7 separate regions of the Homo sapiens genome follow, and all the other regions are linked to region 7. The links are contacts of gene promoters, found by promoter capture Hi-C in blood cells and fetal thymus (Javierre and others, 2016). All regions are on one chromosome and are shown on one strand. The core of a region is centred on a gene start or on the middle of the fragment in contact, and the rest is flanking DNA. Distances in the headings are between cores, read along the strand shown. Region 1 holds the start of NIPSNAP1 (nipsnap homolog 1). Region 2 overlaps NF2 (NF2, moesin-ezrin-radixin like (MERLIN) tumor suppressor). Region 3 overlaps NF2 (NF2, moesin-ezrin-radixin like (MERLIN) tumor suppressor). Region 4 overlaps NF2 (NF2, moesin-ezrin-radixin like (MERLIN) tumor suppressor). Region 5 holds the start of CABP7 (calcium binding protein 7). Region 6 overlaps NF2 (NF2, moesin-ezrin-radixin like (MERLIN) tumor suppressor). Region 7 holds the start of LIF (LIF interleukin 6 family cytokine).

Region 1 (3,569 bases), core at 42-2,541, 670 kb after region 7:
CGGGGTTTCACCCTGTTGGCCAGGCTGGTCTTGAACTCTTGACCTAAACTTCTGATCCACCTTTGCCTCCCAAAATGCTGGGATTACAGGCATGAGCCACCATGCCCGGCAGCAAATTTATAGTTCAACTTTGAAACAAAGATAACAGCCCTCTCCCAAAATAAACCCCTTTCTTGCCTGGGGACCAGACTGCTTTTGTAAGACTAACAAATTAGCCACGAGATTAGAAATTACGGTTTAGGAGTCATGCAGGTAGTGGCCACAGATTCTAAACCTCCCCAGTTGCTCCTAGGGATAACATCACTACTGTAAAACCTAAGATTGGTGCTCAAGATATTTTTCCGATCCTGCACTCAATGGATCCGCTGGCGATACACAGATTAAGAAACCGGATCATCCGGTTTTGTGGCCCCCACCCAGAGATCCACTCAGCACAAGAGGACGGCTTCCACTCCCTATGATTGCATCTCCGACCTGACCAATCAGCACTCTCCACTCTCTGGCCCCTACCCACCAAATTATCCTTAATAAAACCCAGTCTCCGAATTTTCAGGGAGACTGATTTGAGTAATAATAAAACTCCGGTCTCCCATTCAGCCGGCTCTGCATGAATTAAACTCTTATTGCAATTCCTCTGTCTTGATAAATCCGCTGTCTGGGAAACGGGCAAAATGAACCCATGGGGTGGTTACACTGACCCTCTGCTGCACATCCCGGACAGCCTTGTTAAGAACCCTTGGTAGGCTGGGCATGGTGGCTCACGCCTGTAATCCCAGCACTTTGGGAGCACGAGGCAGGCAGATCACGAGGTCAGGAGATCGAGACCATCCTGGCTAACACGGTGAAACCCCGTTTCTACTAAAAATACAAAAAATTAGCTGGGCGTGGTGGCAGACGCCTGTAGTTCCAGCTACTCGGGAGGCTGAGGCAGGAGAATGGCGTGAACCCAGGAGGCGGAGCTTGCAGTGGGCCGAGATCGCGCCACTGCGCTCCAGCCTGGGCGACAGAGCGAGACTCCGTCTCAAAAAAAAAAAAAAAAAAAAAAAGAACCCTTGGTATTATTGTTCCACGCTCCCATTTTACCGAGGTGGATCCTGAGGCCCAGAGTGGGCAAAGGGCTTGCCAAGGTCGCAGAGCGCGCAGAGGATTAGAACCCTGACTTCCGTCCAGCACCTGCGGAGTTGGAGACGCCCACAGGAAACGCCCACCTGACCGGGTGAGTGAGGGGGCGGGCGAGCCGGAGGGGTGGAGTTTATTCGCGCCCCGCCTCCGCCACCAGGGCTTGGGGGCGGGGCCTTCCTGCAACCTTTGCGGCTCCAACATGGCTCCGCGGCTGTGCAGCATCTCTGTGACGGCGCGGCGGCTGCTGGGGGGCCCGGGGCCTCGCGCTGGGGACGTTGCGTCTGCAGCTGCGGCGCGGTGAGAGCCCGGCCAGGCAGGGATAGACGCGCGCGGGGTGGGGTGCAGGCGCGGGGGCCAGGGACTGGGTCGTGGGGGAGGGGCTGAGACTCCTCGCTTGGAATCTGGGGGTTAGAGGCGGGGCAGGATCAAGGCCTAGGGAGGGGTCTGGGCAAAGAATGGGGGAGGTGAGAAAGGGATGGGTAGGGTCTTTGTCCTGGTTGGGACCGGGCTGTGATGGGGACCTGATGAAAGATGGTGAGAAGGGCAGGTACTGGGCCCTGGAGAGTGGGAGAGGGCAGAAGACAGGAGGAGTGGCCCATTCCCAGGCGTAGCTTGTGATTTAACACCCACTGGGGGCTTCTGGTAGTCAGCTCCTCCGTCGGGAAGTTCTGTGGGAAAGAGATGATGGCAGGGGAGCAGTGGGGGATCCCCAGGGGCCATGGCTGCACAGACCCTTTGTTCCTCCACCTCGAACTGTACAGGTGGGGAAACGGACCTGAGAGGGAATGGGAGTTGTCCAAGGTCACCCTCCCTGCTGTGCCGTGGCAGCACCAGGTCTGGGACCCAGGCCTGCCAATGCGCCATGCACTTTGCACCCAACTGGTGGCCTCCTGGGAGTGGGAGTCTGGCTGGGCCATGTGCTCTCAGCCTGGGCTTTTGTTTGGGCCCTGCTCTGGGCTGAGCTAGGGCTTGGCCTCCCTGACTGGCCCTGGGCAGCCCCTCACTCCTTGGTCCCCACAGCCCTGTACTTCCCCCATCTCTGCATATATGACCCTGCACAGTTATGACTTGGTGCTTGTCTGTCTCTCTCACTAGACCATGATCTCATTTTTCTCTGTTTCCCCAGCCTCCCACCCTCAGAGGGCTCAGGACTGTGTATGGTCAAGGAATATTTACCAAAGAAGTGAGGCCACCTGTTCCCCCTCCCCCAACCTGTGAAAAGGAAGCAACCATCCCTCCTGCCCTGCAGCCCAGGAATGAAGCTGCAAAGTTCTGATAGTGCCTGCCATGAGATGTTACAGCACAGAGCAGTGGGGCTTTTGGACAGCTGGGAAAGAGGAGTGGCATAAGCGCCCCACCTAGACTGCCCAATAATTAGGGATAAAGCTGACACCGTGGGAAAAGCCTAGAGTTTGCCTGGCACTAACAGATCTAACTCAGACTTTGTAGGTGGGGTGACCTCAGGACTCTTTAAGCCTCGGGTTCCTCATCTGTAAAATGGGAGTAATCAGGATGTATCTCATAGGGTTGTTGAGGATTAAAGATGCTGTGGTTGGTCGGGTATGGTGGCTCATGCCTGTAATCCCAGCACTTTGGGAGGCCGAGGCAGGCAGATCACTTGAGGTCAGCAGTTCAAGACCAGCTTGGCAACACGGCGAGATCCTGTCTCTATAAAAAGTACAAAAATGGCCGGGCGCGGTGGCTCACGCCTGTAATCCCAGCACTTTGGGAGGCCGAGGCGGTGGATCACGAGGTCAGGAGATCGAGACCATCCTGGCTAACACGGTGAAACCCCATCTCTACTAAAAATACAAAAAATTAGCTGGGCGCGGTGGCAGGCGCCTGTAGTCCCAGCTACTCAGGAGGCTGAGGCAGGAGAATGGCGTGAACCCAGGAGGCGGAGCTTGCAGTGAGCCGAGATCCTGCCACTGCACTCCAGCCTGGGCGACAAGAGTGAGACTCTGTCTCAAAAAAAAAAAAAAAAAAAAAAAAGTACAAAAATTTCACCATGTTGGTGAAAACGTGTCTCTACTAAAAATACAATTAGCTGGGTGTGATGGCTCACCCCTGTAATCCCAGCTACTAGGAAGCTGAGGCAGGAGAATCAATTGAACCCGGGAGACAGAGGTTGCAGTGAGCCGAGATCACGCTACTGCACTCCAACCCGGGTGACAGAGCGAGACTCCGTCTACAAAAAAAAAAGATTCCGTGGTTGTGAAGTGTCTAGCACTTGACGAACATGCAGTAAGTGTTGCTCCTTAACCCCTAGCCTATGTTTCAAGCAATTTCTGCATGTGACCCACATAATGTTGAGGCTCAAAGGGCTCTGGGAAGATCATCTTTTATGAGCCCTTTGTTTTCCAGATAAAAATATCAAGATTGGGGAAGGGACAGAATGGATTGGTGGTAAAACCATTTGTGTGGCAAACACCCAGAGGCTGTAAAAG
Region 2 (3,772 bases), core at 1-2,500, 580 kb after region 7:
AAAAGGTATAAAACAAGAGCAGGTATGTCCACGGCCAAAAGACTCCTGCCAGCCCATGACCACTCCTCGCCTCCCAGGCCAGGACTGACCACACAGTGACATCATCAGTTAAAACAAGGTTGTGCTCACCTGCTTTCTAGCCTTCTCCTCCCTGGCCTGGGCTTTCATCTGCTGAACTTCCAAAGAATCGGCTTTCCTTCTCCTCATAAATAGATCATGGTTCCCGATACATAGCTGGAGAATCTGTGGCCACAGAAGCAGACAAAAAGGTTAATATCCACAAATTTACTTCACTGCCTACTGGCCCACTAGTGCCATAGCAGTTTGAGCTCTTGCAGGTAGCAGTAAACGTGAAGATGAATGCATAGAGTGAAACACCAAAGCCCTACTAGTGGCCTCTAGTGCCGTCAGCTCTGGAAACATGCAAAATGAAGGCGCCTCAGATATGCCAGGAGGTAAAAATCATAAATCAAGAGAGGACTGGAGGACACTTCACCATGTCTTCTGGGTGCACCTTACTCTCCTACATCAAGATGTGGTTCTGCAGACCAGGGAGGATAGGAAAGCTCGTTCAGTAAGCTGGGCTGAGGCAACAGGTTATGCATGTGGAAAAAAATAAGTTGTATCCCTCCCTTACACCTTACACAAAAATCAACTCCAGAAGGATTAAATACTTAAATGCAAAGATTAAGCCCTTGAAACTTTTAGAAGACAATATAGAAGAATATCTTTATGATCATAGGATAAGAGAAGATGCCAAGTAAGACACAAAAAGTGATTAAGGAAAAAATGTATATATTTGTCTACATTAAAATTAAAAATTCTTATTGTCAAGACATAAAAAAAGAAAAAGAGCAACAAACTGGAAGATATAGCCAATAAAGAAAACAGGCTAGGTGCAGTAGCTCACACCTGTAATCCCAGCACTTTCGGAGGCCAAGGTGAGAGGATCCTTGAGCCCAGGAGTTCAAGACCAGCCTGGGTGACATAGTGAGACGCCATCTCCACAAAAAACTCAAAACATTTGGCCAGACCTGGTGGCTCAGCACTTTGGGAAGTGTAATCCTAGCACTTTGGGAAGGGGAGGCAGGCAGATTGCTTGAGCCCAGGAGTTTAAGACAAGCCTGGACAACATGGCAAAACTTTGTCTCTATAAAAAAAATACAAAAAATTAGCTGGGCATGGTGGTGTGTGTCTGTAGTCCCAGCTACTGGGGAGGGTGAGGTGGGAGGATCACTGAGCCTGGGCAGGTCCATGCTGCAGTGAGACATGATCGTGTCATTACATTTCAGCCTGGGCAACAGAGTGAGACCCTATCTCAAAATCTCAAAAAAAAAAAGTTCATTTGATAATGAGATACCATTTTAGATGCACAAGATTGGCAAAAATTTTAAAAGGCTGATAATACAAGTATTAAGGATAGCAAAAAACAAACTTCACCCACTACTGTTGGGTCTGTAAAAATCGATTCACCTTCTTTAGAAAACAATGTGTCATAATTTTGAAATTTAAACATATACCAAGCCCTGTACTTCTACTCCTGTGTATATACTCTAAGCTCTATTTTTGATTTATTTTTATGTATTTATTTTTTTTTTGGAGACGAAGTTTTACTCTTGTTGCCCAGGCTGGAGTGCAATGGCATGATCTCGGCTCACTGCAACCTCCACCTCCTGGGTTCAAGCGATCTCCTGCCTCAGCCTCCTAAGTAGCTGGGATTTATAGGCATGCGCCACCACGCCCAGCTAATTTTGTATTTTTAGTAGAGACAGGATTTCTCCATGTTGGTCAGGCTGGTCTTGAACTCCTGACCTCAGGTGATCCGCCTGCCTCAGCCTCCCAAAGTGCTGGGATTACAGGAGTTGAGCCACTGTGCCTGGCCCTCTTTTTTATTATTTAAAAATTTTATTTATTTTCATTTTTTTGGAGACAGGGTCTTGCTATGTTGCCCAGGTTGGTCTCGAACTCCTGGCCTCAAACAGTTATCCTGCCTTGACCTCTCCAAGTGCTGAGATTACAGGCGTGAGCCACCCCACCTAGCCCAGTATACTCAAGACTCCAAAGAAACTATTGCCTATGTGCACCAGGAGGCAGATACAAAAGTTTTCATAACAGCCTGTTAAAACAGTATAGAAGTGGCTGGGTGCAGTGGCTCACGCCTGTAATCCCAGCACTTTGGGAGGCCAAGGTGGGCAGATCACAAGGTCAGGAGTTCGAGACCAGCCTGACCAACATGGTGAAACACCATCTCTACTAAAAATACAAAAATTAGCCGGGCGTGGTAGTGGCCGCCTGTAATCCCAGCTACTCAGGAGGCTGAGGCAGGAGAATTGCTTAAATCCGGGAGGCGGAGGTTGCAGTGAGCCGAGATTGTGCCTGGGCAACAGAGTGAGACCCCATTTCAAAAAAAAAAGTATAGAAGTAAAAAGCACTTAATTATCCATTAACAGAAGAATCAGAAAAATATATAACAGAGTGCTACAGAGGTGAGAATGAACAGACTATCTTTAAGCATCAACAAAGATATATCTCAAAAAAATAATGAAAAAGGAAAAGGAAAATGACAAAAGAATATATATACTTGACAGCATTTAGATAAATTTCATAAACATATGACATTGAATGGTATTTTTCTTTTGCCATATATGAAATAAAATTCTGTTGAAAAGCAAGAGGATGATGAATACTCAACTCAAAACAGTGATCACCCTTGGGGAGAGGGAAAGGAGAGACCAGCAGGGTGTTAACATGAAGGGTCTCAACAGTATTGGGACTGTGCTATTTCTTTTTTCCTTTTTCTTTTTCTTTTTTTTTTTTTTTCCTGACCTTGTGATCCACCCGTCTCGGCCACCCAAAGTGCTGGGATTACAGGCGTAAGCCACCGCACCCGGCCAGGACTGTGCTATTTCTTAAAGTGGGGTTGTGGGTACACAGCTATTCACTTTTGTTATTCTTTATAATTCATATGTTACACTTATCCTTTTATATGTATGAAATACTGCATTAAAAATCCTTTTTAAAAATTCCTCATCGGCTGGGCGCAGTGGGTCATGACTGTAATCCCAGCACTTTGGGAAGCCCAGGCGGATGGGTCACCTGAGGTCAGGAGTTCGAGACCAGCCTTACCAATATGGTGAAACCCCGTCTCTACTGAAAATACAAAAATTAGCTGGGCATGGTGTCTCATGCCTGTAATCCCAGCTACTTGGGAGGCTGAGCCAGGAGAATCTCTTGAATCTGGGAGGCGGACGTTGCAGTGAGCCGAGATGGCACTGCCACTGCACTCCAGCCTGGGCGACAGAGCGAGACTCTGTCTCAAAAAAAAAACAAAAAAAAAAACTTCTTCATGATATAATTTAGTTTTAACTCTTTAAGCTAAACAGAAAGTATGCGCCAAGTGAGATACCATTCTATACTTCACAAGATGTCACTCTGATATCCTTTAAAAAGAAGTATTCAATTCTCAGAAAAGCTACCATTATCAGTAATGAAAACCAGGATCTCAACTTACCAGCTTATTAACACGAAGCTTTGAGGAGTTAAACTTGAAGACATCAATTTTCTTATCCAGTGGTTTAATAGTAAACTGGAAGAATGAAGCAGAACACAGTTTCAGTCCGACAGCCTGGAATGTTACCAGCAATTGGAAATTCCACAAATGCGCAACCACACTGGCCACAGACCAGCATGAAGTTATGCCTTGTCCTGGCTTCCCAGTATCCAGGCACTAAACCTCAGGGAATTAGGAGCACCAAGTCTCGGGCTGTGGAAG
Region 3 (3,607 bases), core at 510-3,009, 630 kb after region 7:
CCTAGGCAACATAGCGGGATCCCATTTCTTCAAAAAAATTAGCCAGGTATTGGTGGCATGTGCCTGTAGTCCCAGCTACTTGGGAGGCTTAGGCAGGAGAATCACTTGAGCCCAGCAGGTCAAGTCTGTAGTGAGCTGTGATAGCACCACTGCACTCCAGTCTGAGTGAGACCCCATCTCGAAAAAAAAAAAAAAAAAAAAAAGGCCGGGCACGGTGGTTCACGCCTGTAATCCCAGCACTTTGGGAGGCCGAGGCAGGCTGATCACAAGGTCAGGAGATCGAGACCGTCCTGGCCAACATGGTGAAACTTCGTCTCTACTAAAAATACAAAAATTAGCCATGTGTGGTGGTGCACACCCATAATCCCAGCTACTCAGGAGGCTGAGGCAAGAGAATTGCTTGAACCCGGGAGGTGGAGGTTGCAGTGAGCAGAGATCACGCCACTGCACTCCAGCCTGGGCGACAGAGCGAGTCTCTGTCTCAAAAAAAAAAAAAAAAAAAAAAAAAAATACAGGGTCTTCCAAAACTGAACTGTCAGTGAGAGGGAAGCGGATTGTAAAAGTCAAAGAAACAATGTCGTCTGAACAGTTAACTAACTTTTCAAAATCCATACATGAAAGAGTCTCAGAATAAAGATGTTACCAATTGCTATCTAGGTGGGCATACCAAATATTATAAGACACCAGGCTGAATACAGGCAGGAGCATTCTGACTATGTTAAATATGCAACTAGACAATGCTTAACTGTTATAACATAAGCCTCATTTTAAGCCAAAGGTAAGGAATTCTCATTATATCATGAGCAAGTGAAAATGATTCACTTACAGAAAATGTCCACTTGATTCAAAATGACAAACTAGACACTGAGGTAATGTAGCACGGATCGTTAGTCATGTCATTCATCCGGCAAAAATGTAAGCCACTGGCAAGTTTACAAAATGCTTTTGAGATAGTATCATACACCAAATGCAATAAAATAATGCCATAGGCAAATAGTTGTTAAGTTGAGGAAGTCCTTCAAATGATCTCTTCTTTCCACTTTCTTTTTCCTGTTTACCAAATACCTAAGTTCTCTCCAGGTTTCTAACTTTTTCTCTCCTACTTCTCTTTTACGCTTCCTATTTGGGTAGCATAGGGTAGTGGAAAGAGGGCTGGCCTGAAAGACAGATGACCTGGCTTCAAATCTCAGTCCCATCACTTAGAAGCTATGTGGTGACTTTGGACACAAAGAAGAGGAAACCCTTGAGCAGAGCCTAGAAGGAGAATGAGTTCAGTTCTGCCAAGCAACAAATGAGAATGGCATTCCAGGCAAAGAGAACAGCCTATGCAAAGATGTGGCAGTGTGAAGGAGGGACCAGGATAATAGGCTCAGAGCAAGAGGGTGCGTGAGGAAGTGGAGGAGAGGCTGAGAAAGGGAGCAAGCTAACGACAGGCACTGAACTTATTTCCTTTTTATTTTTTTAATTTATTTTATTTATTTATTTTTTGAGACAAGGTCTCACTCTGTCACCCAGGCTGGAGTGCAGTGGTGCAATCAGGAAGCTTATGGCAACCTCGACCTCCCAGGCTCATGTGATCCTCCCACCTCAGCCTCCCGAGATGCTAGGACCACAGGTGCACACCACCACAACCGGCTAATTTTTGTATTTTTTGTAGAGATAGGGTTTCGCCATGTTGCCCAGGCTGTTATTTCTTTAGGTAACAACCATTATATATAGCACTTATCTTGTGTTAGGTACTATTCTACGTACTTTACCAGTAATTACTCAAATTTAATTCTTGTAACACTATGCAGGAAGAATTAATTACATTCACCATTTTACAGTTAGGGAACAGAGGCATGTGAGGGGGTTAAGGAGCTTTAAGGTTGCAAAGCTGGTTAGAGGCAGAGCCAGGAATCAAACTCTGAAGTCTATGCTTGTAATCTCTAGGCTATGCTGCCTCAGCGGCCCCAACAAGGAAACTGAAGCTTGAGTTAAGATTTGCTCAACTTACATGTCAGCCTCAATGTGAGGTTCAAATAAGCAACTGCAGGCTTTACTGGTCGATATTAAGTTAAAGGGTGTGCCCATCTATTCTCCCTATTCTCTCACTACCTACCTGTCCCTGTCCTATTCTGCCTCTTTCAGAATAGATAGTGGCTGCACTAAGCCTTTAAGCATGCTATGTATCCTGTCTGAGCCTCTGTTTCCCCACTTAAAGATGAAGTCAGTTACAGAACCTAGGTCCAAAGTAGTCCTTGATCACTGCTAGGAGGTGTTCCCTGCCTGGTCAACGTGGGCACCCAGTAAATCAGAGCTGCGTGTGGTGGTTCACACCTATAATCCTAGCACTTTGGGAGGCTGAGGCAGGAGGATCCCTTGAGCACAGGAGTTTGAGACCAGCCTGAGCAACCAACGTAGGGAGACCCCCATCTCTATTTTTTTTTTTGGAGTCGGAGTCTCTCCCTGTCATCCAGGCTGGAGTGCAGTGGCTCAATCTCAGGCAACCTCCACCTCAGGCAATTATCCTGCCTCAGCCTCCCAAGTAGCTGGAATTACAGGCACATGCCATTGCCCCCGGCTAATTTTTCTATTTTTAGTAGAGACGAGTTTTTCCCATGTTGGCCAGGCTGGTCTTGAACTCCTGACCTCAGGGATCCACCTGCCTCAGCCTCCCAAAGTGCTGGGATTACAGGAATGAGCCACCATGCCCGGCCAACCCTGTCTCTATTATTTAAAAAACAAATAAATAAAAGAGACAGAGTCTCACTCTGTCACCCAGGCTTCATGCAGTGGTACGAACATAGCTCACTGCAGCCTCGAACTCCTGGGCTCAAGTGATCCTCTTGTCTCAGCCTACCAAGTAGTTAGGACTACAGGTGCGCACAACCACGCCTAATTATTGTCTTTTTTTTGAGACAGAGTCTCGCTCTTGTCGCCCAGGCTGGAGTGCAGTGACGCGATCTCAGCTCACTGCAACCCTCACCTCCCAGGTTCAAGCAATTCTCCTGCCTCAACCTCCGGAGTAGCTGGGACTACAGGCGCCCACTACCACGCCTGGCTAATTTTTGTGTTTTCAGTAGAGACAGGATTTCACCATGTGCCCAAACTGGTCTCGAACTCCTGGCCTCAAGTGATCTGGCCACCCCGGCCTCCCACTGGGATTACAGGTGTCAGCCACTGTGCCTAGCCTATTTTATAATATCTCTTGAATGAATAAATGAGTCCCTGTTATATCAAATGAGGTAGTGTGCATTTAAAGCATTTAGCATGGTACCTAGCACAAAGTAACTGCTAGTCCCTAGCCCTTTGTCCCACACAAAGGCAGAATGGGGTCCAGTGGAGGGCAGCACTAGCCAGCATCTGTTTCTTCGCACCCCTTCATCAGCACGCACGCACTCATCACTCACCCCTGCCTGTCCTAGACCTGAGTAGTGGCACCCATGCCATCCATAGGCACTACTTAAAACCCATGGGAGAGGTCGGGCACGGTGGCTCATGCCTGTAATCCCAGCACTTTGGGAGGCCGAGCCAGGCAGATCATGAGGTCAGGAGTTCAAGACCAGCCTGACCAACATGGTAAGACCCCATCTCTACTAAAAATACAAAAATTAGCCTGGCATGA
Region 4 (3,979 bases), core at 80-2,579, 600 kb after region 7:
GGAGGGAGGTGGGGGGGTCAGCCCCCCGGCCAGGCCAGCCGCCCCGTCCGGGAGGGAGGTGGGGGGGTCAGCCCCCCGCCAGGCCAGCCGCCCCGTCCGGGAGGGAGGTTGGGGGGTCAGCCCCCCGCCCGGCCAGCCGCCCCATCCGGGAGGTGAGGGGCGCCTCTGCCCGGCCGCCCCTACTGGGAAGTAAGGAGCCCCTCTGCCCGGCCACCACCCCGTCTGGGAGGTGTGCCCAACAGCTCATTGAGAACGGGCCAGGATGACAATGGCGGCTTTGTGGAATAGAAAGGGGGGAAAGGTGGGGAAAAGATTGAGAAATCGGATGGTTGCCGTGTCTGTGTAGAAAGAAGTAGACACGGGAGACTTTTCATTTTGTTCTGTACTAAGAAAAATTCTTCTGCCTTGGGATCCTGTTGATCTGTGACCTTACCCCCAACCCTGTGCTCTCTGAAACATGTGCTATGTCCACTCAGGGTTAAATGGATTAAGGGCGGTGCAAGATGTGCTTTGTTAAACAGATGCTTGAAGGCAGCATGCTCATTAAGAGTCATCACCACTCCCTAATCTCAAGTACCCAGGGACACAAACGCTGCGGAAGTCCGCAGGGTCCTCTGCCTAGGAAAACCAGAGACCTTTGTTCACTTGTTTATCTGCTGACCTTCCCTCCACTATTGTCCTATGACCCTGCCAAAGCCCCCTCTGTGAGAAACACCCAAGAATGATCAATAAAAAAAAAAAAAAAAATCACACAAGTAAGACCAGGCATGGTGACTCAGACCTGTAATCCCAGCACTTTGGGAGGCCAAGGTGGAAGGATCACTTGAGCTCAGGAGTTCAAGACCAGCCTGGACAACATAGTGAGACCCCATCTCTATAAAAATACAAATAAAACATAAATAAAATAAAATCACACAAGTAATCAAGGAGCCCCAATTCTGGGGACAACATCTTGTGCTCTGGTGAAAGGCAGGGATCAGGGGAACCAAGAGAAGGTGATATATGACTGAAGTGAAAAATCTGAGGGACATGAAACTCCGTGGCTAACCCTCTCATCGGTCTTGTAAAAAAAAAAAAAAGGTCTATAGTGATTTAACGGAAGTGAACGATTTTCAGCTAACCAGACAGCTCAAGTGGGCTTGGTGGGCCACAGCACCTGCAGTGCTTAGCCACATGAACAGCTAGCATGTCAATCAGGGGCAGATGAAGCAGGGCATTCTCTGAAGGTGTAGTGTAGTGTCCACACACAAGGCAGCTTGTTTGCAAATGAGTTTGGAGTGAGGACCTGGGCCTTTCTGACCTAAAGGCCATGTTTGGCTAAAATTGGAGACCATAAATTCATTTTTCCTGGCTAATAGAAAGGTTGTACCACATGGTTGAGTTTATGGTTTAAAAAAAAAAAAGAAAAAAGGTTTTTCCAGTAAATGTCATAAACCACATGTACATAATGAGATTACACAGGAAATTCATCTTTCTGAATGAATTCACTTAGAATGAATTCTAATTCATTAGAACGATACTTATAATTTCTGCACACCACACACACACATACACACACACACACATACACACACAAGATTATACAAACACTGGAACAGTGACAGTGGTTCTTCAAGTCCACAAGTCCCATAACATCTCACTTTCTGGGGCAAGTCTCTCTGAAGTACAGAAAACCCAAAGAAAGAGAAGATAGGAGTGATCCCATGACCCAAATTAACGCCCAGGAAAAATACATTTTTCTTCTTTGAGCCTACCTTGGCCTGGACGGCGTAAGAAGCCAGGAGCACAGAAGCCTCAGGAGGGCAGTAGATCTTTTCATCTAAAATCTGCTTCTTTACCTGAAAGGAGCAACAAGGGAGACATGATACTCTGTGAGTGGAAGTGAGGTGTGTAGGCTGATCACAACAGATGGCCTCACGGCGTTCTAATGAGGGCTGCCAGAGCAGCCTGTTAATAATTTTCTGACAAAGGGTACAATTTTTTTTTTACTGATGCAGACAGGTGGAGAGTTCAGTCACAGAAGTTACTGGTATGACGGCTATGCATAAAAACCCCTTATCTCTTCTCTTCATGATCAATGCTGAAGAGTAAAAACGGTCTCTGTAGTTACAACAGAGGCTGTGTGACAGAGCGCTATGAACTCAAGAAGTGTCAAGAGCAGCTCTGGGGATGACTACAGCCTCAGCCCCTTTGAATATGCATGGCCCCAGAGGAAATGGATCTACTTTTAAGTATTAACACAAGACAAAAGTCACCAAGGCCACTGAGTTATGATTGCAGAAAAAACCATCACTCTCAACGTGCTGCTCTAAGGGAAAAGGAAGCAATAAAATTTGATCGATTCAACTTTTAAGTACACGTGAGGTCCAGGAAATATAATTCTTAAGCCATAATGTTGAATTAACATATTTCATTGCACTTAATTTTCTTAGAATGGTGCAACTTGGGATGTTCCAGACACAGAAGCAAGACAACTGCATGACGTGGCAGGGGGACACTGAAATAAACACAGCAGGAAAGCCAGCTCTCCTCTCACAGATGTCAACAGTCACCGGATTCATAAAAGCAGTAAATTTTGCCTTGCTCAGTCATAAAAATGCCTTAACATTTCAGTATGGGGAAAATCAAGTCAGTCACACAAGAGACAGGCAGTGCTTCCAAGTACTTACAAGAAAGCCATTTCTATAACATTAGGACATTCTGGGACCTAGGAGATTGTTAGGTGTTTACGTTCAAACACAAAAATTCTTCTTAGGTTTTAAAAGTGATTTTACATTCTTAGAGAGAAAATGAAACCTGAGATGTTTCTCAAGCAGTGCAACTTTCTAATCCCTTGGTTTCATTTCCAAAGAGAGGGGGGAAAAAGCAACGCTATAGAAAAACTGCAAGAACATCCCTTTTCTTTTGAGAAGGAGTTTCACTCTGGTTGCCCAGGCTGGAGTGCAATGGCGCAATCTCGGCTCACTGCAACCTCCACCTCCCGGGTTCAAGTGATTCCCCTGCCTCAGTCTCCCAAGTAGCTGGGATTACAGGCATGTGCCACCATGCCCGGCTAATTTTGTATTTTTAGTAGGGACGGGGTTTCTCCATGTTGGTCAGGGTGGTCTCAAACTCCTGACCTCAGGTGATCCACCCGCCTCGGCCTCCCAAATTGCTGGGATTACAGGCATGAGCCACCACGCCCAGCCTAAGAGTGTCCCTTTGATCTGCAAACATCAGAAATAAATTTGTCACCTCTTTTGCGCGTGCACACACACACACACACACACACGCCCCCCAGACCTTTTTTAAAAAGAATTTAGGGGGTTTTATTATATTTAACTTAATATTTGCTGACCACAATATACTGAGGCTGAAATTAATTACAGGAGGGCTATGTGACAGACTACCCAACTATCTCTGGGAAATCATGTAATTAATGCCCCTACTGCCATCTTTTACATTACTGAAACCTTTGAGCACACAAATAGCCCCAGTGCCAATCACTGCAACTGGCCATGAAACTGGGGAGCCACTCTGACCTGCAGTAAGAACATAAGTGAAACTGATAAGGTTTTCATCCTCAGACCAGTTCCCCTCCCTGTGCCTCTGGATGGTCAACCTGTAATTGTGAATTTCTTAATTTCTTCAATTCGGTGGGACAATTACTTATGGAATGCCTACTGTGTACTTAATGAGGCTTGCCTTTAAGGGGCTTACAATCTAATGAGGAATTAAGGAAGAAATAGGACAATTAGAGACACAGCATAGCATGAAGCACGATGTCTGAAGTACCACATATGGGGGACAAACCAAGTGTCACTAGAGCTCTGAAGTCCTCTTTTTTTTTTTTTTTTTTTTTTTTTAAGACAGAGTCTCACTCTGTCACCCAGGCTAGAGTGAAGTGACTCAATTTTGGCTCACTGCAACCTCCGCCTCCTGGGTTCAAGTGATTCTCCTGCCTCAGCCTCCTGAGTAGCTGGGATTACAGGCATGCATC
Region 5 (3,701 bases), core at 576-3,075, 530 kb after region 7:
CTCCACAGCTCTCCCCGCTTCTGAGGGTTTGCAGGGGCAGTTGGTGAGGAGCCTGGTGGCTCATGCCTATGGTGCAGTGAGCGAGGCAGAGGCTGCCTTCTCTCTCTGGATCTTCCCCCGACCCATTCTGACTCCTCTAAGATCTGCCCTCACCCTGGGCCTGGGTTGAGGGAGGACCTCCCTCCATGGCTTCCCCTGGGCTCCCACCATCCTCCCTGACTGTGCTGGTCTTGGCTGCACCCTCCCAGGCCCTAATGAGCCTCCAGATCTCAGAGACCCCTGGATCCAAGGTACCCCGAGAGGCCCATCCTCTGGGTGAGCTCAGCCCCTTGCAACAGCAGACATGCAGATCCCAGGAGGCCGTGACCCCCATCAGCCCAGATCCCCCACTCCACTCCATATGGGGGCTCCAGGAGGTCTGGGGGGAGGGGAAACCTCAGCACCTCCCCCAGCCCAGCAGGGAAGGAGCTGGGCGGGCCCCAGGGGTCTCACTGCTCCTCAGGACACACTGTCCCGGACCCCTGCCCCTGCCCTCTGCTCTGACCTCGCCCAGCCAGCGGCCTGCCATCCCCCTGCGAGTCTGAGAGGCAGGGGGAACGGGGTGGGGGCGGGTTTGGGTCCTGGCCTCTCTGCCTTTCCCTTCCAGGCTTGGCTATCGCGACTTAGCCGCCCAGTCCGGCCACTTGTTGTCGCCACCGCCTCCCGGGCCGCCTTCCCGGCGCGCCGGGCTGGGGGTCCCCGCAGGGCTGCAGGGAAGGGGCTACGGCCGCAGGTGGGGACGGGGGCGGCCCCGCAGCGGGCAAGAGCAGGGCAGTCGCCCTCTCCCCTTCTGCTGCTGCCCGAGCAGATTGAATTTTTAAAGCGACACGAGCGGAATGTCAATGCGAGCAGAGAGCCGCGGGCGGGCGCCGCGGAGGGGATCAGGATGCGGGTGCTCCGGCCGGGCCGGCGCTGGGGGCTCAGCGCGGACCCCCGCCCCAGTCCGCCGCGTTGCCGCACCGTCACCGCCGACTGCGCGGCCCCGTGACCCCGCTGCGGGGCCCGGCAAGTTTCCGCAGCGCTGGGGACCACGCGGGCAGGGGCTGGGCCGCTCTCCGCCTGAGCGACCCCCACCGCGGCGCCCCGGGGTGCGGACAGGTCTTGCCGCGGGGCACAGCTGCTAGCTGGGGCGCCCACCTGGCAACCGGCACCTGCGGACCGCCCCCCGCCCCCCGCCCCCGCGCCCCTGGCCCGCGCTTCACCTGGGCGCACAGGTAGGAGGGCCGCCGGGGCGGGGATCCCGGCGGACACTCACCCTCCAGCTCGTCCTCCGGGATGTCCACCGGGCGCTGCTCCGACAGCAGGTTGGGCACGGTGTAGATGCCCCGGTACATCAACGCCGCCGTCACCGGGTGGAACGGCATCTTGGAGGCTCCGCGCCCGCCCGCCCGCCGCAAACTTTGAGGCCGGGGCTCATGGGCCGGTGGCGGCCCCGGGGGCGGCTGGAGCGGGCGGGGCGCGCGGCTGCGGAGGGCGGCGGCGGCAGCGGCGAGGCTGGGGACGCCCCTCCGGGGGCCTAGCGCCCCCGCGCCCCGGGCCGCCGGGCCATGCCGCCCGCTCCCTCGTCGGGCTCCCAGCCGGGGCCCCGCAGGGGCAGCGGGGGCGGCGCCGCTCTGGCCTTTCCGAGAGCTCCGGCTGCCTCGCGCGGTGCCCGCCGCGCCCGCTCCTCGGTGCCCCGCGCGCTCCGCGCTGCTCGCCGCCCGCTAGTCCGCTCGCCGGCGCGGCCGCTACCGGCCCGGCGCTCAGGCTGTAGCCGCCTCTCCGCTCGCTCGCTCGCTCGTTCTGTGCCGCGCTGGCTGCGCTCCCCGCCTCCCCCGCCAGCCGCCCGCCCGCCCCCTCCGCGCTCCCCACCCCCAGCCCGCCCCTTCCCGCCGCCGGCCCCTGAGCGGCCGCCCCAAACCTGCCCGGGGCTCCTTCTCCCCTTCGGCCCCGATTCCCCTTTCCCACTAGGGCTCCCCTCTGTTCACTGGCTCTCCTCACCCTAAGTCTGCAGCCACCAGGACCAGGGAGGGGGTGGGTTGCGGGGGTCCTCCTTCCTGCCCCTTGGCTCACCTTCCCCCATCCACGCACCAGGAGCGGAGAGCCCGGAACTAAGAACTGTAGACCCAGAGAGGTGAGACTGGCCCCAAGCACCTGGGTCCTCAAGAAGAGTCACCGTTTCCGTGCCAGGAGGATCCAAGGTGGGGAAACTGAGGCTGAGAGAGAAGGACGTTGACCAAGGTCACAGGGCAGGAGCAGCAGGTAAGAGCTGGGTACACGTCTGGGGTAGGCTTCCTGCCCTGCCTGTGACTGACACCCTGCCGCTGACCTTGCTCCCCACAATGGGGCCCCAGTCCCGGACCCTTCCCAAGCCCCTACCTTTCAGCTTGCAGAAGAGGAGCCAAAGTGTCTCATGGCCCCCAGGGCAGTTCGGGACAGAGACATGGCCCGGTGCCTGTGGGGTCTGGTGTGAGGGCCTGCCAGTTCACATGGCTGCAGCTCAGACCTAATGTATGTGCAGGGCTTCCCCAGGCCCCAGGGCACGTCGGCACCCCAGAGCTGGGGTGGGGGCAGGTGTTTGAGGGAGCAGCCTGCGTGTGCATATGTCTGCTATCCATGAGGGTGTGTATGTGCCACTGGGCACGTGCGCAGGTGTCTGTGACTCCATATGCAGATGGACAAATGTCGGGAGTGTGTGGCCACCTGTGTGTGCCAAGGTTGTACGCTGGCAGGTCGGGGGAGGTGTGCAGGCCCTGGGGCTGGGAGTGGTGTGGGCATATGGTGCACAGATGTGCATGGGAGGGGGTGACCTTCTGGCCTGGCTGTGGCCCCATCTCTGGGTGCTTCCCTGAATCCCCCTACTGGGACCACCTCCCTGCCCCCTTTGGCCCAATCAGCTAAAGGTCCCAGCAGGAACGCTGATTGCACAGCCCTGCCCGGTCCTGCCCTGCCCTTCCCAAGCTGATTACACTTTTCTGCTTGTTTCTGTTTTTGTTACTGATTAATCGCAGCCTTGTCTCAGGGTCTGGGGAGAAGGGGCTCAGTGAGAGATGCTAGCCCCAGCCAAGCGGGGTTGGGTCAGCCTGGGCCCAGCACTTCCTGGGCCCTGCTCTGGAGGGAGCTCCTAGAAACATCTATAACCTGCGGAGGAGCCAGGAAGGACACCAGCTGTCTGTCTGTCTCCCCAGACCTCTCCGGGCTAGCTGGTTGCCCACTGGGACCTGGGCCTGGAGGTGAGAGAGGCCCCAGAAAAGCTCCCACCCCACTCCAAAGCTCTCCTTGCCCACCTGTCCCATCTTCTGACCTTCCACCGCTAGAGCTGAATGCCTTGAGCTTCCCCAGTGTTTTTGATGGAGCAGAGACTTGAGGAAGTAAGAACCCAGCACCAAGAGCCAGGCAGACTGGGGCTTCTGCATCCACCATCTCCTCACCATGGAACTACAGTCAGGTCCCTTAACCGGCCATAGCCTCAGTTTCCCTGCCTGTTAAGGTGGCAGTGCCACATCCCAGGCAGCGGTGAGGATGAAGTGACATAATGTAGGAAAGGTGCCGGGCATCACCTCCCTGAAACTCTTGGGAGTTTCCTATTAGCATGAACATCCCCCCCAAGGAATAGGAATTAATAATAATTATAGCTTCGAGTATTGATTGAGAGAGCGAGCCGCAGCAGCAGCTCAGTCGTT
Region 6 (3,588 bases), core at 146-2,645, 560 kb after region 7:
CACTACTACATATTGAAAACGAAGGAGCGGGGGAGGGTGTAGACACAAAAGGACGTGCAGATCCTCTGGCACCGGATCCACAGGGAGAAAGCAGACTCAGAGCAGAAAGGTGACAGCTGAATCCAGCAGCAGCAAATTCCAAAAGAATCTTTGGTTTGGGGTGTGGGAAACCTTCCCCCTTCCAAATAAGCAAAGAGGAAGGGCCAGTAAAGGGGGATGGCTGTACTAAGTGGCCAGATCAAGCTTTTCTTTACTTTCTCTTTTTTTTTTTTTTTTTTTTTTTGAGACGGAGTCTCACTCCGTTGCCAGGCTGAACTGCAGTGGCGCGATCTCCGCTCACTGCAGCCTCTGCCTCCTGGGTTTAAGTGATTCTCCTGCCTCAGCCTCCTGAGTAGCTGGAACTACAGGCGCATGCCACCACGCCCAGCTAATTTTTGTATTTTTAGTAGAGACAGGGTTTCACCATGTTGGCCAGGATGGTCTCAATCTCTTGACTTCGTGATCCGCCTGCCTCGGCCTCCCAAAGTGCTGGGATTACAGGCATAAGCCACCGCGTCCGGCCCAGATCAAGCTTTTCTGCAGTCTGGCTAGGGACAGCTGCACCCAAATGCCATATGGTGATGTGCACAGTGGGAGCACTATCCACACACTTATCCTACACAGAGGTGGAACGAAAGGCCAAGTCCACCCCAATGAACAAATCCAATTTGTTATTAGCGACTTTATCTGCTCTCAAGAGAAATCTGCCACTGAATACCCAAGGGGCCCTTTTTGTGTATTAATCCCTGAGGGACCCAAAGCAGCAAAAGCTGCCTGAAAACCTGTCTACCTGCTTTGCAGGCTGCCCTGTGGCACTGGCCGGCGGGGCCCTCCGCTGCTCCTCTGTTCCTTCCCCTGACAAATGGCCTAATGGGCCTGATTCACCTCACTGGGCAGGTGGCGGCTATCTACTGAGTGGTCTGAGCAAGAGCCTTAGGAAAAAGGTCCAGATAGACTGATGTCATTTTAAAATTGCCAACATCAAAAGAGAAATCACAGCAAGGATCATGAGAACAGAACCTCGGGCTCGCAGAACGAGTTTGCATCTGGCTCTTCCCTCCCACTGTTGCAGCAACGAATCCGGTGCCGAGGAGAGCTGCACTGAAACACATCTTCAGTGCCGAGGGGCCGAACAGGGTGTTTTACTGCCTCAAATAAGGCCTGGTAATATCCTCAGGCATCTCCAAATGGTGGTAAAGTACCTAGGCAGGCAAGGCAGGTTTGTAGGCTCTTCAACACCTCCCAAAGAACAACTGCTTGACCAGGTAAAGTCTCTTAACCAAAAACAGGATTGGCTTGTTGACTTTTAGAAGAGGCCGATACAGTCTTCTATCTAGAGCTACCAGAAACAAGCAAGAAAACTAAGCTCTCAACAGTTACGAGACACCAGGAACTCAGTGTGTGAGAGTGGTAGGAGTGGCCTTCAGGGATGAGCCCAAGGTGTCCCATCCGGGAGGAGCACTAAGAGCAGCCTGCAGTTCCTAATGCCTTCCCTGGGCTTCCACAGAGCCAGGAGGCGGAGAGGAAGAGTTCAGATCGCCACTGCAATTTCTTCCCAGTGTGCTATGCCCACATCTGGTGCTGCTACTGCTCCCTGTTAATCCTTGCTCCCCACCCCACTCCCCACTCCTTTTTCTTTCCTTCCCCCTCTCACCCCTGCCTTGCTCTAGCAGGGAAGGTTCAGGGCTGGGGAGCCAGTATGCTACCTTTTATGTCAAGGCCAAGATGCTCTACCATACAACGCCCAGTTCCTAAAGCAAGCAGAGCCATTCAGCCCACTGGGGTCATAAGGAGGGTTGGCTATATTAACTACCTATTAAACTTAAGTAATTTAGGAGCCATCTTCAGGGCTGGCAATGCAGACCAGAGGTCGCCAGGGAGGCTCTGGCCACTTGTTTTAATTGTGGGAGACACCTTTCCCGCATATGCAATCTCTCTCTGTGATTTATCACTTCCCCGGGTGTTTTTTTAACTGTTCTACTTCACTTCACTGGCTCTGCAACTCCAAGGGGAGCCTGCACAAATTGAAGATGACATTGGACTTTTATGTCTTCCTGATCCAAGAGAAGCTGCTGGCGCTTGAGATAAATGTCAAGGCTCCTCTTCTTCCTGTTCCTCCATCAGTGGAAACCACAGCTGGACCTTGACGGTTCAAACCATTTACTAATGAAATAAGCTTTCTAAGCTCCACCACCCCCATGATTTCTCATCCGTCAATTTCCTTGGAAATCCTGTGCTCCTTGGGAGACCACAGGCACAAAAGTGATGACTTTGTTTGCTGGCACTCAGACCAGCTCAGGATCGGGAGACTGAAACCCCTCTCTTGAGAAGCGATGAAAGAAAGACCCTGAATGTATATATTCCAGGACTGCATTCTACCATCAAGGTATGGTGGTACAGTTACGCCACACCAAGCCACCACTCCCATCATTGGCACTGTGGCTCTGAAGGCACGAAAGCCAGGCTCAAGGCACCCTGTGTCCCTCAACCCCAGCCTGATGGCCAGACTCACTCCCCTCACTCGGAAGGCTCAGATGCCAGGACACGTGTCGCTCCCACTGAGAATGAAACAATTCCAGGTTCCCCAGGGCGGCTTTTGATCGCTAGCACTGCTCTGACTCAGATGCAAATGGCAAACTAGTTGTACTGATCATCAATTGGGAAAAATGGAAATACAGGAAGTTAAGATTAGCAAGAGGAGAAAAATACATCCTTGCAAACCCAAGTGAAATATTACAAGGAAACAGTGAAGTTAATTATGGCTATTTATTTATTTATTTATGAGATGGAATCTTGCTCTTGTTGCCCAGGCTGGAGTGCAATGGCACGATCTTGGCTCACTGCAACCCCCACCTCCCAGGTTCAAGCAATTCTCCTGCCTCAGCCTCCCAAGTAGCTGGGTTTACAGGCATGCGCCACCACACCTGGCAAATTTTGTATTTTTGGTAGAGACGGGGTTTCTCCATGTTGGTCAGGCTGGTCTCGAACTCCTGACCTCAGGTGATTCACCTGCCTCGGCCTCCCAACGTGCTGGGATTATAGGCATGAGCCACTGTGCCCGGCCAATTATGGCTTTTTAAAAGTTTTTACTTTCAGCCACGTAGCAATTAATACAATGAATGAATATGCCCAGCACAAGCAGTGTACCTAGATGTGGCGGTGTGGCCCACATGCCGTCCTTCGCCCTTTGCTGCAGGATCACAAGCAGATTTTCCCTTTTCAGAGTTTTAACCCCTTACTGAGCTCTGACTGTGCACTGAGTGTTGCACACACATTCTCTCATTTATTCCTCACAACACTCCTGGGGGCAAAGACTATTTTTATCCACCTTTTGCAGGTGAGGACACTGTGCCTCAAGAGAGAGTAAGAATTCATCCTTTTTTATAGCTGCATGTATACATATGTAACAAACCTGCACGTTGTGCACATGTACCCTAGAACTTAAAGTATAATAAAAAAAAAAAAAGAGAGAGCGAGCGAGTAAGAATTATAGAGAAAGGAAGTGGCAGAGAAGTAGGAACCTCGGTTAATCAGACTGGATGGCCGCTC
Region 7 (3,861 bases), core at 265-2,764:
GGGAGAGAATGGGGGGCAAGAGCGTAGATAAAGCAGGGTGTGTGTGTGGTGGGGAACGGCAGCAGGCACCAGGGCTCGTCCTGGCACGATGAAGGAGGAACCCGTGGCTGGGCAGGTCTGGGATGTGGCAAGAGGCAGGAACTGGGGGCATGGAGGATGGGCGAGGGGGCGGTGGGGGCCCGGGCGAGGCTGCAAGAGCTCCCTGGCCTTGGAAAACCAACTCACACACCTTGATCTCAGGTCAGGGTCAGGCGGAAGGGCTGGGAAGGGGCCACAGGGGACTAAATCATCTCCTGGTACTGGGGGTCCCCTGGCAGCTTTAGGGACGGCATGGCCCCAGACGCGTGGCCATGCTGTCTGGCCGGCATTCCCGCATCTCATAGGGTGTATTTATTTTCACTTTTCTGTTGCATTTCTTGGAGGTGTCCCTGTGCTCATTTTGCCCGGCTCCCCACTGCTCCTTTCTGCCCTTCCTCATTCACAAATCGCCTGGCCTCAGAAGACGCCAGAACATGTGACACTGCCTTAGAGCCTCTAGAAGCACTTTTTGGGGACCTCCATCATTCTCTGAGGCTGGGCTCAAAGGGGCTTCCAAGGCAGGTCTGGAAGGGACCAGCCACTTCTCAGTTTCCCCAACCATCAATCAGCACCCGGAGGAGGAAACTGGGGTACGATTTCGCCAAGCCTCTCTCAGTCCTGCTTCAGAATGGAAATGCTGGACCGCCTTCCCAGAAGCACCTTCCCAGAGTGTCCCGACAGAACTGAGTCAGTCACCCCTACCCCCATGTCTTCCTAGCCCCTTCCCCAGCCTCACAGGTACAGTGGTCAGCAGGGCGAGTGCACTGGTGGTGTCTGGAGGCCTGACCCTCTGGGGCCCTGGGCAACGTGTTCCCCTCGGAGCCCCTTGGGGCCCAGTGGCAATGTGCAGATTGGAGGAGGCTACCTCTGGGGTGGCTTCCAGCGCCCATGTTCAGTTCCACTTTATGACCGTCTAAAGTCCACGCCGGCCCCGGCCCCTCCTCCTGGAGCCTCCTTCTCAGCCAAGCCCTAGCCCTCCTCCTCCCACTGCCCCCCTAAAGCCCCCCAACCAGGGGGCACAGGGGCCAGTCTCCATCTGCTAGTCCAGACTCGCTACCTCCCCAAACCCAGGTGAGTCAGGGCCGTCTGGGGCGCCCACTGCTGGGACCCCTGCTGACTCGGCCAGGGGCCCCCTCCTGGCGATGCCCATCTTCAGACAACTCCCGGGACAAGCCAGGCAGGAAAACCACAGGGCGTTTTGTCGAAGGCTTCATTATAATTTTATCAATCAAATTCTTAGAAGAGGGAAAAAGTCTGTTCTCCCCACCCTCCCCCCTCACTCGTCCCCCCCCTTCACTCTCACTTTCTTCCATTCATAATTTCCTATGATGCACCTCAAACAACTTCCTGGACTGGGGATCCCGGCTAAATATAGCTGTTTCTGTCTTACAACACAGGCTCCAGTATATAAATCAGGCAAATTCCCCATTTGAGCATGAACCTCTGAAAACTGCCGGCATCTGAGGTTTCCTCCAAGGCCCTCTGAAGTGCAGCCCATAATGAAGGTCTTGGCGGCAGGTAAATACACCCGCCCCGCGCCGGCTTCGCGTCCCCGCTGCGGGGCGCGGCGGCAACTTGGGGCGCTTGGCAGCGCGAGCCGGACGCCCACCCGCCGCAGACACACGAACACTTGGGGCGCCCGCGCAGCCACCGGAGGCGCTGGGTGGCGGCCCGGAGCGAGCGCGGGCACATGGTCCCAAGCACCGCACGCCCCGCGGCAGGTTGGCGGCGAGGGAGGGGGCGCCGAGCCTTCCTCCTCCTCCTCTTCTTCCCCCTCTCCTTCTCCTCCTCCTCCTCCTCGCTCCGGACACTCGCTGGCTGCTCTTCCCTCTGCGCTTTCTCCCAGATTCACTCTCCCTCTCTCTTTTTCTTTTCTTTCTTTCTTTCCGCTTTCTCCTTTCCAACCGCGGTCCCGGGCTGCTCCCAGGGAGGGGCGCGGGCGGCGAGCAGCTTGCAAACTCCGGCCTGGGACGGGAGCAGGTGCCGCCTCCATCTGCTGGTGTCTGGAAGCGTGTGGTCTGCGCTAGGTGAGATATAGGGGTGTGGCCCCCCTCCCGCAGCCACCCCGGGGCCTCAGCACTGCCTTGGGATGCTGGGACGAACAGGGGACCCAGGAGAAGTGAACTTGAGGAGGCCCCTGTCCCCGCTGTTCCAGCATGGGGGATCCGGGGGAGGTCTCCAGCCTCACTCGCCCGCTGACCCCGGCCCCCACCATCTTCAGGTGCCCTTCTGCAGAGCCCTGGAAAAGCGTCTAAGGGGGCCTGGGGGGAGTCGGGAGAACAGGCCCCCCTGGGGGAGGGGCAAACCAGGACATGTCGGGACAGCTCCCAGCTCTCCTGTCACCTTTCACTTTCCTTCCTCCCCGCCCACCCGACTGCCTATGACCTTTTGCCTTTTCTCTCTCCTGGTGCACCATTTCCTCTCCCTCCCTGAGCCGGTGTGTGTGTGTTAGGAGGGAGGGGAACCCCTGGGACAAGGGACAGCGGATGAGTCGGGAGAAGGCATGGAGTCAGGGGCTGTCCGGAGCTGGGGGAACAGAGAGTTTTGAATGATGATTTGGGGATGGAGAGTGGGGACAGCCAGGCAGAAATGGGGTGAGCTTGAGTGAGATAGGGGACACTAGGGAAGGAAGAGATAGAGGATGATGGGGGCGGGGGCAGAATTGGGGGCAATTGGCCCAGGGAGCCAGAATCAAGTGGCAGGTTTGGGAGGGAGATGAGGGTCAACCGAGGACTCCTCCCCACTCCCCCATGCCCCGTGGCCCCCATGGGTGCCTGGCTTCGGAGATTTGGGCTGCAATGGGCCAGTGAGTGGGAAGCGCTGCTGAGGAACCTGGGCCACCACGGGAGGTGGGAAGAGAGGGGTCTCCTTTCTCCTGGTGCCTGCTGGGCCTGGGGCCTGGTGCCTTCCAGCCAGAGGGCCAGGGGGCCTTAGGACCTTTGCCTTCCTGAGGGAAAGGGTGGGATGGCTGGGAGTCTCTCCTGGACCCTGCACCCTTTGGGTGGAAATGGCTTGTGTCTTGCCCTCATCTTTACGTCATCCCAGAAGAGAGCAGGGAGAACTAAGGTAGAGAAAGGGAGACAGAGAAACACACGCAGTGACAGAGTGAAGACTAGGCCCCAGGAAGACAGCTGCAGGTGGTGAGGGGGAACCAGGAGTCCTCTCCCATGCGGCCATTGTTGGACCCCCATCCGGTGTGCCATGACCCCAGGCCACCCTTTCCTGCCTTTCTACTCATGGCTTCTTCCTGACTGTCCCCAGGAGTTGTGCCCCTGCTGTTGGTTCTGCACTGGAAACATGGGGCGGGGAGCCCCCTCCCCATCACCCCTGTCAACGCCACCTGTGCCATACGCCACCCATGTCACAACAACCTCATGAACCAGATCAGGAGCCAACTGGCACAGCTCAATGGCAGTGCCAATGCCCTCTTTATTCTCTATGTAAGTTACCCCTGGGATACTGACAGGAGATGGCAGGGAGGGGGCTTGTAAATATCATTAGGGGCTGTCCTGATCTGGGTTGAGGGGACCTTTTGGGGCTGGAAGGAGAGAATGGGGAGAGGGCTTGATTAAACCACCCCCAGACTCCCGCCACTTCCTGCCCAAGCTTCCCCAGGGAAGCTTCCCCAGGGTGCCCAGTTAGCAAGGGGAGAACTGAGTGCAAAGGTGGGGACCTGGCACTTCTTATCTTGTGATTGTCCTGCTGCAGGGAGCGAGGGATGGAGGGGAAATGGGCGTGAGGCACCAGGGAGATGCGGTTGAGAGGCAGTGGGCTGTGGGTGCT

Evidence for each region. The method cuts DNA at HindIII sites, captures the fragments that hold promoters and counts their contacts. A CHiCAGO score of 5 or more calls a contact.
Region 1: the fragment with the promoter of NIPSNAP1 here is called in contact with the fragment with the promoter of LIF in region 7 in 1 of 17 cell types (neutrophils); the score reaches 5.9 in neutrophils.
Region 2: a contact is called between a fragment that was not itself captured here and the fragment with the promoter of LIF in region 7, in 1 of 17 cell types (M2 macrophages). The highest score is 5.5, in M2 macrophages.
Region 3: a contact is called between a fragment that was not itself captured here and the fragment with the promoter of LIF in region 7, in 1 of 17 cell types (M0 macrophages). The highest score is 5.5, in M0 macrophages.
Region 4: a contact is called between a fragment that was not itself captured here and the fragment with the promoter of LIF in region 7, in 1 of 17 cell types (M2 macrophages). The highest score is 6.1, in M2 macrophages.
Region 5: a contact is called between the fragment with the promoter of CABP7 here and the fragment with the promoter of LIF in region 7, in 6 of 17 cell types (M1 macrophages, M0 macrophages, erythroblasts and 3 more). The highest score is 12.1, in M1 macrophages.
Region 6: a contact is called between a fragment that was not itself captured here and the fragment with the promoter of LIF in region 7, in 6 of 17 cell types (M2 macrophages, M0 macrophages, M1 macrophages and 3 more). The highest score is 10.2, in M2 macrophages.

The regions. Positions count from the first base shown.
Region 1 is chr22:29,578,835-29,582,403 of GRCh38, reverse strand. NIPSNAP1 (nipsnap homolog 1) reads left to right here and starts at 1,291. Exons shown (of 10, transcript NM_003634.4): 1 at 1,291-1,419. The coding sequence starts at 1,322. RefSeq lists a silencer at 1,485-1,534 and an enhancer at 1,518-2,130. The HindIII fragment of the contact is 18,053 bases long and covers 1-3,569 here.
Region 2 is chr22:29,664,804-29,668,575 of GRCh38, reverse strand. It overlaps NF2 (NF2, moesin-ezrin-radixin like (MERLIN) tumor suppressor), which reads right to left. Exons shown (of 16, transcript NM_000268.4): 9 at 3,512-3,586; 10 at 130-243. Among named protein-coding and RNA genes, the nearest start is that of CABP7-DT, 53 kb to the left of the region's middle. The HindIII fragment of the contact is 4,563 bases long and covers 1-3,531 here.
Region 3 is chr22:29,619,550-29,623,156 of GRCh38, reverse strand. All of the region lies in intron 1 of NF2 (NF2, moesin-ezrin-radixin like (MERLIN) tumor suppressor), which reads right to left. Among named protein-coding and RNA genes, the nearest start is that of NF2, 18 kb to the right of the region's middle. The HindIII fragment of the contact is 427 bases long and covers 1,546-1,972 here.
Region 4 is chr22:29,640,061-29,644,039 of GRCh38, reverse strand. It overlaps NF2 (NF2, moesin-ezrin-radixin like (MERLIN) tumor suppressor), which reads right to left. Exons shown (of 16, transcript NM_000268.4): 4 at 1,755-1,838. Among named protein-coding and RNA genes, the nearest start is that of NF2, 38 kb to the right of the region's middle. The HindIII fragment of the contact is 9,111 bases long and covers 1-3,979 here.
Region 5 is chr22:29,718,127-29,721,827 of GRCh38, reverse strand. It overlaps CABP7 (calcium binding protein 7), which reads right to left and starts at 1,825. Exons shown (of 5, transcript NM_182527.3): 1 at 1,295-1,825. The coding sequence starts at 1,403. It overlaps CABP7-DT (CABP7 divergent transcript), which reads left to right and starts at 1,925. Exons shown (of 3, transcript NR_186695.1): 1 at 1,925-2,280. RefSeq lists an enhancer at 1-516. The HindIII fragment of the contact is 23,163 bases long and covers 1-3,701 here.
Region 6 is chr22:29,685,873-29,689,460 of GRCh38, reverse strand. The region is part of intron 15 of NF2 (NF2, moesin-ezrin-radixin like (MERLIN) tumor suppressor); the gene reads right to left. Among named protein-coding and RNA genes, the nearest start is that of CABP7-DT, 32 kb to the left of the region's middle. RefSeq lists enhancers at 1-16, 236-735, 736-1,237. The HindIII fragment of the contact is 1,644 bases long and covers 574-2,217 here.
Region 7 is chr22:30,244,412-30,248,272 of GRCh38, reverse strand. It overlaps LIF (LIF interleukin 6 family cytokine), which reads left to right and starts at 1,514. Exons shown (of 3, transcript NM_002309.5): 1 at 1,514-1,596; 2 at 3,340-3,518. The coding sequence starts at 1,578. LIF-AS2 (LIF antisense RNA 2) reads right to left here and starts at 2,063. Exons shown (of 1, transcript NR_148946.1): 1 at 1,280-2,063. RefSeq lists an enhancer at 3,064-3,564. The HindIII fragment of the contact is 10,846 bases long and covers 1-3,686 here.